Regions from separate parts of the Homo sapiens genome. Here all the other regions are linked to region 1. Evidence: promoter capture Hi-C in 16 types of primary human blood cells and fetal thymus (Javierre and others, 2016). All regions are on one chromosome and are shown on one strand. The core of a region is centred on a gene start or on the middle of the fragment in contact, and the rest is flanking DNA. Distances in the headings are between cores, read along the strand shown.

Region 1 (4,675 bases), core at 1,726-4,225:
TCTTGCCAGGGATGCCCCTTTTCCACTGTTTTCCTGGAGAGCTCTTCTCCACCTGCCTTAGGACTCACAGTTCAAGCATCCCTTCCTCTGTGAAGCCTTTCCTTTTTTTTTTTTTTTTGAGACGGAGTCTTGCTCTGTTACCCAGGCTAGAGTGCACTGGCAGGATCTGAGCTCACTGCAACCTCAGCCTCCCGGGTTCAGGCGAGTCTCCTGCCTCAGCCTCCCGAGTAGCTGGGATTACAGACATGCACCACCACGCCCGGCTAATTTTTGTATTTTTAGTAGAGATGAGGTTTCACCATCTTGACCAGGCTGGTTTCGAACTCCTGACCTAGTGATCCATCCGCCTTGGCCTCCCAAAGTGCTGGGATTACAGGGGTGAGCCACCATGCCTGGCCTGTGAAGCCTTTCCTAATTCCTCTGAACTGACTTAGGTCGCCTCCCCTGTGCTTCCATTAACAACGTACACATACTTCTACAGCAGCACTTACCACACCGTGTTTTAATTGTTTACATGTCTGACTAGCCATAAGCTCTTTGATGGCAAGGGTAATGTTTTACCCATCACTGATTGCACACTTCATAGGCACTCAATAAACACTTGTTAAATGCATTAATAATGGATGATATTGGAAGTCTTAAAGAATGGCAACTATACTTTCTGGATTCCAGACCAAAATTACAGTAAGAATTAACAATGAAGGCTAAACTCTCATTATATGTTTCTACTACATATATCATTCCTGGCCAGAAAAAGAGGCCAAAGATTGGAGAAGATTGCTCTAACAGTGCTGGTCACTGCCAAGCTACCAGCCAAGAATAAGAGCACTTGCAGTATTAAGAATGAACAGAGTCATATCTAAGGCAATTTCTACATTTCAGGCTTCTTTGCCTGCCTCAGGAGAATAGAAACAATGATGAATAAGAGACCTTGGAAGGGTCACAATGTCCACCATCACAAAACCTTGTAGCAAACTGTGATTCAACACAACTTCTGCTGAAATATACAGGAAAGCTCTTCACCTTCTTACCAAATCTACTCAAAGTTCTGCTAAGGAACACAGGGCTGAACTAAGTCCTCCCAGAACCCTGCCATTTGTACAGTGGCATTCTAAATCATTCCTCATGGGATTTACTCATCACTGAAGAGATACAGGCAAAGCAATACAATGCTGTGGTCTCAAATGCCTCTCCCTGTAACAACCTTGTACCTCACAACCCTATTGGGTTTACAGGCTACTAATAAGACACAAAATCTGATCTGATCCTGTGGGAGTAAAGCCCTGGATTCCCTCAAGGGATTAAATAAATGTCGACTACTTCTGGATTCCCAAAGTTGTGGGGTTTATTTAGTTGAAAAAGCATAAGGACCAAAACACAGACAAGTGAAGCGATGGAAAGGAACTTTGCCTCTGAGGATCATCTGCAGCTGAGTGGGATGTGGCTCTTGGCATATAGTGAATGAGATAAGCAATGCTCAAGGGCCATCCAGAACTGTTTTGCTGACAGATATCTGGCTTCTTGCATGTTATTCCTAAGAAGCCAAAAGGCTCCAGTTAGCCTCTTGAAGAGACAAAAAAAATTTGTTTTCACCGTAGGCAAGAGCAATTACCAAGCCAGTAACTCTGACTAGGTGTTTTAGCATATTTCTTTCTGCCACTACAGTCTTACATAACCCCAGCTGTTACGTTAACACCTGCAGCTACATTAGTCACAGCTTAGCCCTTCACAAGGTATGTGTTCCTACTGTCCTCTCCCAAGAAGGGAAACTGAGTCATAGCATATCAACTGGCTTCCCAAGCACATGCTTAGTGTATAGTGAGGCCACAATTGAACCCAGGTGGTCTTCCTACTATTCACCTTTTCTCATGGATGAATCTCAGCATGCCCACCCCTGCTGCTCTTTTTCCTTCAACCTAAAACCAAATCATTGCCTGCAGAGATCATATGTGATCCTTTAGAGTCAACAAGGGCTTCTAGTTATCTTTCCCAAGAAACAGGAAGGTTAACGAGGAACATGGAGCAGGAGAGGGTGGGTTTGGAAAGAGGTGGATCCCAACAGGACTCACCTTGGAGCTGAGGTCCTCTCGTCGGTTTCCTGCCTTACTCCTGCGCAGTTTGATGGATGGAGATCTCAACAGATTCTTGATCCGGCTGGTAATGGTTGACCCTTCCACAGCCATTATGACGAGAAACCCTTTGGGACAGTCCCCGGCCCAGTCCTGGGTCTTGTCTCAACAGCGGCACTGTCTTCCCACTCCAGAGGGCTTCCCAGTATGCCCTCTCACTGACCTGAGATGGCAGAAGCCACCTTAGTATCACAGTGTCTTACCTTCTGCCTAGCGAAGTCTGCAGCTTTTACCTCTGGGTATTGCTCTCACCATTTCCCTCATCCCCACCTTCTAGCCCTGCACAGTTTCTTACAACGTCGGAAGGAAAGGCTCACGAAAAAGGGGGGGAAAATCCTAAGCCACGAAGAAATGCCAGGCCCACGCCCGCCAGAGGCGTTTAACTGGCGAGATGGATGGGATGGGCCCCAGTTGGTCTCGTGGACGATCTGGTTCCCGTTAATGCCCAACTGTTCCCATGGCAACTGTAGTGTCCAAGGGAGGAGGCCGCCGAGACCACCAGGGATTTCCGCAGGCCTGGACACCTGCGCTAGCGCCGGCGGGGACGCGGCGGGGCTCGCCGTAGCCCACAACTCGTTCTGCCACGGGAGCCTCCCTCCCCCACTCCCTATCCTCCAGAGCTCGCTCTCCGCCCTCCACAGCGGCTCTGGACCTTTATCTTTCACCCGCCTCTGAGGCCCCTGCTACTCGTCAGCGCCCCCGTTCGGGCCCAGCCTCACCAGCCTCGGCGAGCTAAGGCCACCCCGCTCACAGCGCCCTCGGGCATCGCGTTCGGCAATTTCAGCTCCGCCGCGGTAGCCGCAGCGGTAGAGGCAGCAGCAGGAGCTATGGTGGCACGATCGGCTCAAAACGCGAACTACCGCCTGGGCCAAGCCGCGGGCTGGGTGGGCGGAGCCGACGCGAGGGGCGCGGCCTGTAGTCAGGAGAGCGCTTCCAGAGTGGACGAGCAAGGTTTACGGGGGCGGAGCCAATGAAAGGGCCCAGGAAGCAGACGGCTTGGGACTAGGGAACCACGGAATCCGCACAATTGCGGGTACCGCTTTTAGAGGAAGGTCAACAGAACATGGCTTCAGAATTGAGAGAACCAAGCCTTTTATGGTATTATCAGGCCTGGTCCCCCATGGAACTGCACTTCCCAGAGCCCCAAGACGATAACCACGCCTCCAGGGTGTTAAGGTTGTCATCTGATAGGCCCGAGGGACCGTAGCTGAAACTCCTAGCTCAGAATTACAAGACTGAGCTACAGCCTAAAAGCTCTGCTCCCAGCGACCACAAGTGTTGAGATTTAAAGCGACTGAAGTAGTTTCTGCTCGCAGCCAGTCCGGCACGTAGACTCAACGTGGAAAGGATTATTCTGAGTAATGCAATTTAATAGCTAAGAACAGTATTTTTGCACTGGGCAACCTGGTCATCATGAAAGGGGAAAGGGTGGCCTTGAACAGAGCTTTGGGCGTGCGGGGGAAAGAGAAGTGAATATGCTATGTTATAATACTTTAGGTTTCATGGCTTCTTTAGCCTCCAACATCCCATTGTGCTTCCTCACCTAAAGCTGACCAGGACTTTGTTGCTCCAGATCTTTTCCTCATTCCATTTACTTATGAATCCTTTTATCTAGGGCTGTTCCTTGCTGAGGTCACTGTCGAGCTTGCTGATACTAGATCGAGGGGTAGTTTTCTAACTCATGTCGGGGGAGGCAGAGGGAATACACGGAAATGTTACATGAAATAGTATTTCCTGAGTATTCTCCACTTGACTACTACCACAAGAAATCACCTTATGAAAAAGCCTAAGCCAGAGACTTGGGTCCCAAGGGAATAGTACACTGGTGTGTCCGTCTCACCCTATCCAGATCTTTTGAATCCCTGTGGAGATGACATGTGTCTGCAAGAGGGAAGAACCTCTAACAAATTATTATACCTTATGAAAAAGCCTAAGCCAAAGACAAGGGACCCAAGGGAGTACTACACTGGTGTGTCTGTCTCACCCTATCCAGATCTTTTGAAACCCTGTGGAGATGACATGTGATAACAAGAGGGAAGAACCCCTAAACTCATTGCTTGTGTACAACGGTGAGCCTTTAGAGCCAAGTGGCAAAGCACATATTTTCTTGTGTATACTGTAGCCACGTACTGAAAATTAGATTTGTAAAGCTCACAAGTTGACATGGAGATGATGGATGTCACCTCCTGGAGACCAACTGGCAATAGCACGTGGCCTTCTTCCCTTCAACCATGCACTGCAAATATTATGAAACAGAAAATACGATTTTCAAATTTATTTCCCAAGTCTGGAAGAAGAAGGCAAGAACCATTAGCTACAATATGCAAGAGGTAGTTGGTTCCTTCAACCTCTTGGTAGTTACATGATGGGACCTCTCCATGGGATTGAAAGCTAATAAATGGTGCCACCTGGTGTCTTTACTTGCATGCTGCAGACCACGGCAGATGCCATCTCCACCCATGAAACTAGAGTAAAAATGTGCCCACAAGAGCCGTCCCTAATCCTCTCCAGATCATTCTGGTGTCCGCTAACGGTTTTCTCACCTG
Region 2 (4,675 bases), core at 1,399-3,898, 300 kb after region 1:
CAAGGAACATCACACAGAGAGAACAGCAGCCCCCAAAGCCAGTGCCTGTTTGAAGTGGAAGCAGAAGCTACCCCAGAAGTGCCTCCTACCGTAGTTGCAGCCCTTTGTTTGTTCTGGTGCCACCTAGTTGGTAAACTTTGGCAGTTTCCACAACACCCGTAATCTCAGCGACCTAAGTGAGAGGACAGAGACGCCAGTCAAAACCAGACTCTTCCGGAGCTTTCCACAACACTCTTCCTTTGCGTCTCTCTACCTGAACGCAGACAACTGATAGAGTGCTGAGTAGAGTCCACAGCTGCCAGGGGTTCTGAGAAAGGTTTCTCAGGTTTAGAATCCAGATGGCCAAGCACAGGGAGCCTTGTGCCCAGGAGGAGAAAGTGCCAGCAGAAGAGGAGCCCGATGGGGCCCACTGGAAGCTTTTCCTCCAACTAATTCTAACTTACAAGGGATGTATTTGGGATTTCACCAGTTGATTTTTATCAACCAAATGTGAAGACCATGTAGGTCAGTTTCTGTTGCCAAGCATTTCAGGATATGGCATGGCTGCAGGTCCTCATACAAGGGGATAACACACATAAAAACCAGACAAGAATAAAACAAAACAAAAACAATCCAGGCTGGGCGCCGAGGTTCAGGCCTGTAATTCCAGCACTTTGGGAGGCTGAGGTAGGAGGATTACTTGAAGCCAGGAATTTGAGACCAACCTCAGCAACACAGAGAGACCCAGTCTCTCTTTTTTTTTGTTTTTTGTTTTTGAGACAAAGTCTTGCTCTGTCGCCCAGGCTGGAGTGCAATGGCATGATTTTGGCTCACTGCAACCTCTGCCTCCCTGGTTCAAGTGATTCTCCTGCCTCAGCCGCCCAAGTAGCCGGGACTACAGGCACATGCCACCACGCCAAGCTAATTTTTTGTATTTTTAGTAGAGAGGGGTTTCACCATGTTAGCCAGGATGGTCTCGATCTCCTGACCTCGTGATCCACCTGCCTCCCAAAGTACTGGGATTACAGGCGTGAGCCACTGCGCCCAGCCGAGACCCAGTCTCTACAAAAAAGAAAAAAAAAATTAGTTGGGCATAGTGGTGTGCACCTACAGTCCTAGCTACTCAAGAGGCTGTTGTAGGAGGATCGTTTGAGTCCAGGAGTTCAAGGTTGCAATGAGCTCTGATCACACCGCTGCATGCTAGCCTGGGCAACAGGGCGAGATCCTATCTCAAACAGGCTGGGCACAGTGTCTCATACCTGCAAACCTAGCACTTTCGAAAACCGAGGCAGGAAGATGGCTTGAGTCCAGGAGTTCCGGATTAGCCTGGGCAACATGGTTAAGACACTGTCTCAAAAAAAAAAAAAAAACCCAACACCTGGGCCGGGCGTGGTGGCTCACACCTGTAATCCCAGCATTTTGGGAGGCCAAGGAAGGCAGATCACGAAGTCAGGAGATCGAGACCATCCTGGCTAACAAGGTGAAACCCCGTCTCTACTAAAAATACAAAAAATTAGCTGGCATGGTGGTGGGCGCCTGTAGTCCCAGCTACTCGGGAGGCTGAGGCAGGAGAATGGCGTGAACCCAGGAGTGGGAGCTTGCAGTAAGCCAAGATCGCGCCACTGCACTCCAGCCTGGATGACAGGGCGAGACTCCGTCTCAAAAAAACAAAACAAAACAAAACAAAAAACCAACACCAAGCACTTTAGGAGGCTGAGGCCAGAACATCACTTGAGGCCCGGAGTTTGAGACCAGCATAAGAAACAGAGAGAGGCTGTTGCTACAAAAATTTTTTTTTAAATCCCAAAGTGAGGCCGGGTGCGGTGGCTCACGCCTGTAATCCCAGCACTTTGGGAGGCCGAGGCGGGCGGATCACGAGGTTAGGAGATCAAGACCATCCTGGCTAACACGGTGAAACCCCATCTCCACTAAAAATACAAAAAATTAACCAGGCGTGGTTGCGGGCGCCTGTAGTCCCAGCTACTGGGGAGGCTGAGACAGGAGAATGGCGTGAACCTGGGAGCCAGAGTTTGCAGTGAGCCGAGATCGTGCCACTGAACTCCAGCCTGGGCCACATAGCGAGACTCCGTCTAAAAAAAAAAAAAAAGAGACTCAGTCTAAAAAAAAATCAGCCAGGCGTGGTGGCGCATGCCTGTAGTCCCAGCTACTTGGAGGCTGAGGCATGAGAATCGCTTGAACCCAGGAGGCAGAGGCTGCAGTGAGCCAAGAGCGTGCCACTGCACTCCAGCCTGGGCAACGGGGTAAGACTCTGTCTCCAAAAATAAAAAACAAAAAATTAAAAATAAGGCCGGGCTCAGTGGCTCATGTCAATAATCCCAGCACTTTGGGAGGCCGAGACAGGTGGATCACCTGAGGTCAGGAGTTCAAGACCAGCCTGGCCAACATGGTGAAACCCCATCTCTACTAAAAATACAAACAGTAGCCAGGCACGGTGGCGGGTGCCTGTAACACTAGCTACTCGGGAGGCTGAGGCAGGGGAATTACTTGAACCCAGGAGGCGGAGGTTGCAGTGAGCCAAGATCGTGCCATTGCACTCCAGCCTGGGCGACAAAAGCGAAACTCTGTCTGAAAAAAAAAAACAACAAATAAATAAAAATAAAAATAGGCCAGGTGCGGTGGCTCACGCCAGCACTTTGGGAGGCTGAGGCAGGTGGATCACAAGGTCAAGAGTTCAAGACCAGCCTCGCCAACATGGTGAAACCCCGTCTCTACTAAAAATACAAAAATTAGCCAGGTGTGGTGGCATGCGCCTGTAGTCCCAGCTACTTGGGAGGCTGAGGCGGGAGAATCACTTGAACCCGGGAGGCGGAGGTTGCAGTGAGCCAAGACCACGCCATTGCACTCCAGCCTGGGTGACAGAATGAGACTCCGTCTCAAAAAATAAAAATAAAAAAATAATAATAATGGTAAAATAAAATATAAATAAATAAATAAATAAATCCCAAAGTGTTGGGATTACAGGAGTAAGCCACTGTGCCCAGTCCACCTAGACCACAGAAGCAGTGCTGGAACCTACATAATAACCTGTATTAGTCTGGAGGGTTTTTTTTAACCTCAATACAATTCCCTGGTGTAGAAGTCACTTGGTATGCAACATGAAACTTTTCATTCATTGGTTTTTCAAATGAACAAATCTTTTAGATTATGTAACTCCCAATGAACACTTCATAGATGCCTCCCTTCTCCCTTTTATACTGAAGGGAGAATAGAGAAAATTATTCTACATCCAAATCTTCCAGGCCCTTGGGCTCCAAGTCCTCCTCTTGGCAACAAGTCATGAAGGATTCCTGGGCACCTCACTGCTCTATGGGGATCCCACTTGGAGTCTACTTTCCATCAAATGCTGAGAGAAGAGTGATCGATTTTTTCAGTAGCTCCTGCCCTCAGTTGAGACTAATTATACTGAAAGCATGGACAATTGTCCAAGGGAAGAAATACCAACCCGGTAAACTGGTTTGCTGTTGTGGTTTCCGATGCCAATCCGCACAAAACATCCTGTGACAGTTTTAGCAAAGAAGGGCATGTGACACCAGCGTTCTAGCTTATGCCGTGATAATCGAACCCGATTCAATTCTTCAGGTAAGGAAACTGGTTGGGATTTGGGAGGGATCTCTTCTTTCCTAAGAGGAACAAAGGGGCACTGGAAAAAATGTTCATCATAAAAACAGAACAAGACAGAAAAATAATATCAACTCCTCAAAACTTAACCAAAGTACATGTGACTGGCCTAGGAGGAGAAGTAAATGAAGCACCAGCAAAGACTTGTAATAGGATCCTGTTCCTGACCAGTAGTATGAGCTGTTTCAAATGAGGCTGCCATCTTAGATAACCCATCAGAGTAAGAAAATGAATGAGCCTGTAATCCCAGCACTTTGGGAGGCCGAGGCGGGCGGATCACGAGGTCAGGAGATCGAGACCATCCCGGCTAAAACAGTGAAACCCTGTCTCTATTAAAAATACAAAAAATTAGCCGGGCGTAGTGGCGGGCGCCTATAGTCCCAGCTACTTGGGAGGCTGAGGCAAGAGAATGGCGTGAACCCGGGAGGCGGAGCTTGCAGTGAGCCGAGATCCTGCCACTGCACTCCAGCCTGGGCGACAGAGCGAGACTCCGTCTCAAAAAAAAAAAAAAAAAAAAAAAAAAGAAAATGAATGAAAGCTCCAGGCCAATCTGAGAATGACACGAAGTCAGTTCCTACCTTCCAGGCCCAGGTGAAATGTCTAAGCGTACAGGCTAGCAGCCAAATGAATGGGCTGACGTGCTGGGGAACTCAGTTCAGCAAACCAAAGGTAACCATGTCAGAGTTAGTGGCCCAACCAGGGAGATTTTGGAAACGATACCAAGCTCTTCCTCAAAAACCCACCTATCCTGCCTACTAGACCAAAATGTACAAGAGCTTACTCCTCTTCTTCATCAGACGATGATGTTCGTGATGAGCGGTCTGACTTTTCACTGGATTTGTCATCCTCTTCCTCCTCTTCATCATCAGAGTAGACCTCACTGGTTTTTAATGGCTGTTTTTTGGCAAGGAGCTCAGCTAGAAAGAAAGAAGAGATGTTTACCTAGGTTTTCTCAACAAGAAAATGAATTCATCCTTGAAAAAGAACTGGAAATGGAAGAGGACTCAAATACACAGCTCCGTCCTCTCTAGACTGGATTGTGCTAACTTGGGGTATA
Region 3 (4,675 bases), core at 1,835-4,334, 280 kb before region 1:
GGAAAATGCCTTTTCTTTATGTTTTCTTTTTGCAATAAAAAATAAAAACAAATAATCAGTCCTTTATCCAATGCAATGAACATTACTTTTGTGAATAACCAATGCAAAATGAAACCAACCAAAATTTCACATGATAAACTTTTAGAGAACCACATCTTAAGAATAAAAAAATTGTCCTGGCAAAAATTAGACTTGTAAAGAGATAGCGGCCACAAAGAAAAGGTAAAACCCATCATAAAGGGTATGATTTCATGGTGTGTGGAAAAGACTTGGTCCCAACGAAGATAAGCAGCAAAACTGGAAATTGCTAAGTATTATTCTATTAAAAATAATCAAGAAGATCAAGAAATTAAATTGGCTTAATTGAATTTGCTCCAGAAAATACATTTTTCTCTTTTTCTTTTCTTTAAACTTATGTATACAGCCCACTTTTACCCACCAGATTCTATTCTACTCCCTATTCTACATCTTAGGTATTTTTCATAAAACGTTTTCTAGATAAGACTTTATTAAATTAGGATACTTCTCATAAAAGCATTTAAGCTTAACAGAATGAAGTTAAAATTTCCCCAGGGATGTAAAAAAGGGAGAAGCTCAAACATATACACATCAAAGCCACACATCAGAGCCCAACATTCCAGTCCTCACTGTAGCCTTCTCAGCTTGTTCTGTTTTTCACCATTAAAAGCTGTCGTTACTGGTCAGGTGCGGTGGCTCACGCCTGTGATCCCAACACTTTGGGAGGTGCAGGCAGGCGGATCACTTGAGGTCAGGAGTTCGAGACCAGCTTGGCCAACATGGCAAAACCCCATCTCTACTAAAAATATAAAAATGTGCCTGTAATCCCAGCTACTCGGGATCCTGAGGTAGGAGAATCTCTGGCACCTGGAGGTTGCAGTGAGTTGAGATCATGCCACTGTACTCCAGCCTGGGTGACACAGTGAGACTATGTCTCCAAAAAAAAAAGAAAAAAGCTGTCATTACTTCTGCAAATCTTTCCAGGCCTTGCCTTGCTTTTCTTTCTTTCCTCTGTCTCCTCCTTCCCTCCCTCCTTTTCTCCTTTCCATTTTCCCTTAACTAAATGTGTAGGGTAATAGTGTGCCTCTAGGTTTTGGAAGCTGAGGACTTACTTAGTGAGCGTTCTATCCACCTGTAGATCTTCCATTTTAGGAATTGAATAAGAAAAAAAAACTAACAAATACAAAAAATACACATAGTCCTGTGGAGCCTATTCTAGGAGTGGCCAACTGTGGGGCCACCCAGGGCCTGGCTGGGCAGGGAAGTGGGGAATTTGGCAGGACCAGTGGCCAGGTGCCCTTGAGGGATTCCGGGCACATGGTGCTCAGTGCAAGAATGTTTGTTGGAGCTGTTATTTCAGCTGAGGTTAAAATTCTTTGTTTGGCTTTTATTTTTAATTTGTAGGAGGTGAATTTTACAGGAGACTAAGCTCAACAAGGCCTGGAGACATCCCCTAGAAACATTTTAAAAGGATAAACATTCAGATACTCCCTGACACCAATCTGGAAATGACATGAGGGCTCGTCTCTGCTCCTGCCCCTGTGCCCAAGTCTAATTTTTTTTTTGCCAGATTGCTTTTTTTATCCCCAAGATATGATTCTTTCAAAGTTTACCATGTGAAATGTGAGCTGGTGTTGGTTTTATTTTGCATTGATTATTCACAAAAGTAATTCTCACTGGAAACTGGATAAAGAACTGATAATTTGTGTTTTTTTCAATTGCACAATAAACCATCACCTATCAATATTTAGTCTAATCCAGGTCTCCCTCTCAAATTCTAAAAGTTTACCTCGAATCAGAAGTTATTCTGGGTCTTACACATAACTTTCTCTTTGACTTCAAGGAAGCTTGACTTCAGAGCCCCCTCCCCTGGCACTAAGTTCCTGAGGGTCTGCAGAGAGGGTCCCCTTTCTCACCCTGTCTGCCTGTCTATCTGTCACCATAGTTCCTGGCTTGGAGAAGTCCTGGAGTCAGACCACGGGAGAGAAAAATAACCCAAGCAACAGGAGGGTCTTCAAGGGCAGGAAGAAAGAACAGGAGAGAGGATGTCCCAAGAACAGGGAAAGGAAGCCTGGCTCCTCCCTGCCTGGGCCCCACACACAGTCTACCAGCGAAGCTGCCCTCTCTGCTCACTCTCCAGCGTGCTACCACCTCCACACTCATCCTGGCTCTCAGCCCTGGCCACCACCAGCTGCTCCAGGTCAGATCCCACTGGTCAGCTGCCTCAAAGCAGCGTCCATTCTGGGTCTCACCTGCACAGTGGGGTGGGCAGAGCTATGAGGAAGAGACCTCTTCCAGGTGCCCCCCAGATGCCCCGGACAGGGCAGAGACCTCTGAGTGGCAGTGCCTGGGCATCCTTTCACCTTGACTAAGCACAAAACACATCTACCAAAAGAAATCTTGAACGACCCCATTCTGATCTCTGTATTTATTTTTTAAATTACAATCAAGGTAAGATGTAGAAAAATGAGAATACCGAGGTACACTTGGTTATTCCACTCACTAATCCTCACTAGTTTTCCATTATAGCTTGACCTTCGTATATTTTCTTTTGTGGCTACTATTGCTTAGCAAGTCTAATTTTGTTTTTTTGTTTGTTTGTTTGTTTTTGGGTTTTTTTTTTTTTTTTGCCAGGTTGGTTTTTTATCCCCAAGATACGATTCTTTCAAAGTTTACCACGTGAAATATTAGCTGGTGTTGGTTTTATTTTGCACCGATTATTCACGAACGTAATTCTCACTGGAAACTGGATAAAGAACTGATAATTTGTGTTTTTTTTAATTGCACAATAAACCATCACCTATCAATATTTAGTCTAATCCAGGTCTCCCTCTCACATTCTAAAACTTCACCTTGAATCAGAAATTATTCTGGGTCTTAACACATAACTTTCTCTTTGACTTCAAGGAAGCTTGATTTCAAACACCTTTGTATCTACATATCTCCATCCACATAACTTTTTTTCTTCCAATGTCAAGCTTCCTTTCTCCCTTGTGGCAAAATAAAAAGTAAAATATTATAGCCATGTCTGGCATCTGCACACTCCCTCCATGAAGAGTTGCCTTTTCCCCAGTCACTTGCCGGCACTGGCTTCTAGTAAAGACCTCCAGAACAAGGCCCCTAAGAAATGGAAAACGTAAACCAACAAGCTTTGTAAACTGTGAAATGTGGTGCAGGGAAGAGATCTGGCAACTCTTCAAGTCAATTCCAAACTGATATTTTTACAATGCATTTTCCATTTATTTTATTTCAAAGTTTACTTTTTATTGTTTTATTCCAAACTGCCTTTGCTTTGTAAGGGAACCAAGTGTGTGCTTGACGAATGTCAACTCCTTTTATCCTTATTAGCACTGCCATTCAAGCTATTTTTTCCTATATAGCACAAACGGAAAAATGACACTTTATAACCGTCTCCTACCCAAACACATGACTGGTCAGTCTAAGTGTGGGTCTGGCTGTTGCTTGGTTTATTGATTGATTGAGACAGGGTCTTGTTCTGTAGCCCAGGCTGGAGTGCAGAGGCACAATCTCAGCTCACTGCAACTTCAACCTCTTGGGCTCAAGCGATCCTCTCACCTCAGCCTCCCAAGTAGCTGGGACTACAGGCACGCATCGCCATGCCCAGCTAATTTTTGTGTTTTTAGTAGAGTCAGGATTTCGCTAAGTTGCCCAGACTGGTCTCAAAGTCCTGGGTTCAAGCGATCCACTCGCCGTGGCCTCCCAAAGTGCTGGGATTATAGGCATGAGCCACTGCACCCAGCCTGTTGCTTCATTTCTGATAGGGCTATTTGGGCCAGAGACACCCACTGGAAAACCACAGCCTCAGAAAGAGAGGGGGACAGCGGGATACTCCCAACTAGAGAGGATGCTGGGTGCCTCAGAGCCAGCACACAGAAAGACAGGAAGATGAACATTTCAAATGTATGTTAAAAACAGTTGTAAACAGAACATAAAGAAGCGTTCTTAATTTTTTTTTAATTTTTGTTTTTAACATGGAACTAGGACACATCCCCGTTAAGCTGCCAGATATGGCATCTATTAAACCAAAGAGAGCCAGAGTAAATGATTAAATTCTATTCTGGCCTGTGGCCCCACCATCAGCTCTGAACACAAGGCTAGGTATTTATTTTCAGGGGTTAAAATAGAGATCTGGGGGTGTCAGGCAAGACCCAAATGAGTGGCTTCACCCACCCAGGAAAGTGAGGCTCCTTCAGGGGCCTGGATGGCCTCAGCCATTTCACCCCCAGCCCTCTCTCCCTCCCTCTCCCACTGACATATTGAGTTTCGCACTTTAAAAATAGCTCTGCAGCACTAAGAAGCTTTCTCTGAGCGTGGATCCCAGCCCTGAAACGCAGGCCTCCCTTGACGGAGAACTGTCCTATGTGAGCATAATGCTAGCTCCCTGCTTGTCTTTCAGGCAGCGCAAGAAATTTCTCTCCACAAAATAGGTCCAGATGGTTTGAAATATTCACAGAGATAGACGTGGGGCTCCTTTAGTTAAGCCCTGGCTTCCTTCAGCTCCTTAATAATTCATCCTGGCTTAGCTTCAGGAGGAGTCTGGTGGCACTGCTTCCCTTTCACACAAAACTCCCTTGAAATTACCCCAGGAGGCTCCAACAACACCTTACTTTGAGGACCAGCCTCAGCTCCACACAGC

What was found. Contacts are between HindIII fragments. The CHiCAGO score rates a contact against its expected background, and 5 or more counts as called.
Region 2: a contact is called between a fragment that was not itself captured here and the fragment with the promoter of MAPKBP1 in region 1, in 1 of 17 cell types (endothelial precursors). The highest score is 6.9, in endothelial precursors.
Region 3: a contact is called between a fragment that was not itself captured here and the fragment with the promoter of MAPKBP1 in region 1, in 1 of 17 cell types (endothelial precursors). The highest score is 6.7, in endothelial precursors.

The regions. Positions count from the first base shown.
Region 1 is chr15:41,772,784-41,777,458 of GRCh38, reverse strand. It overlaps MAPKBP1 (mitogen-activated protein kinase binding protein 1), which reads right to left and starts at 2,975. Exons shown (of 31, transcript NM_014994.3): 1 at 2,849-2,975; 2 at 2,070-2,292. The coding sequence starts at 2,183. RefSeq lists an enhancer at 3,479-3,528. The HindIII fragment of the contact is 7,491 bases long and covers 1-4,675 here.
Region 2 is chr15:41,470,117-41,474,791 of GRCh38, reverse strand. It overlaps RTF1 (RTF1 homolog, Paf1/RNA polymerase II complex component), which reads right to left. Exons shown (of 18, transcript NM_015138.5): 7 at 4,400-4,535; 8 at 3,443-3,620; 9 at 90-172. Among named protein-coding and RNA genes, the nearest start is that of ITPKA, 21 kb to the left of the region's middle. The HindIII fragment of the contact is 4,459 bases long and covers 419-4,675 here.
Region 3 is chr15:42,050,733-42,055,407 of GRCh38, reverse strand. No RefSeq gene overlaps it. Among named protein-coding and RNA genes, the nearest start is that of PLA2G4E, 32 kb to the right of the region's middle. The HindIII fragment of the contact is 171 bases long and covers 2,999-3,169 here.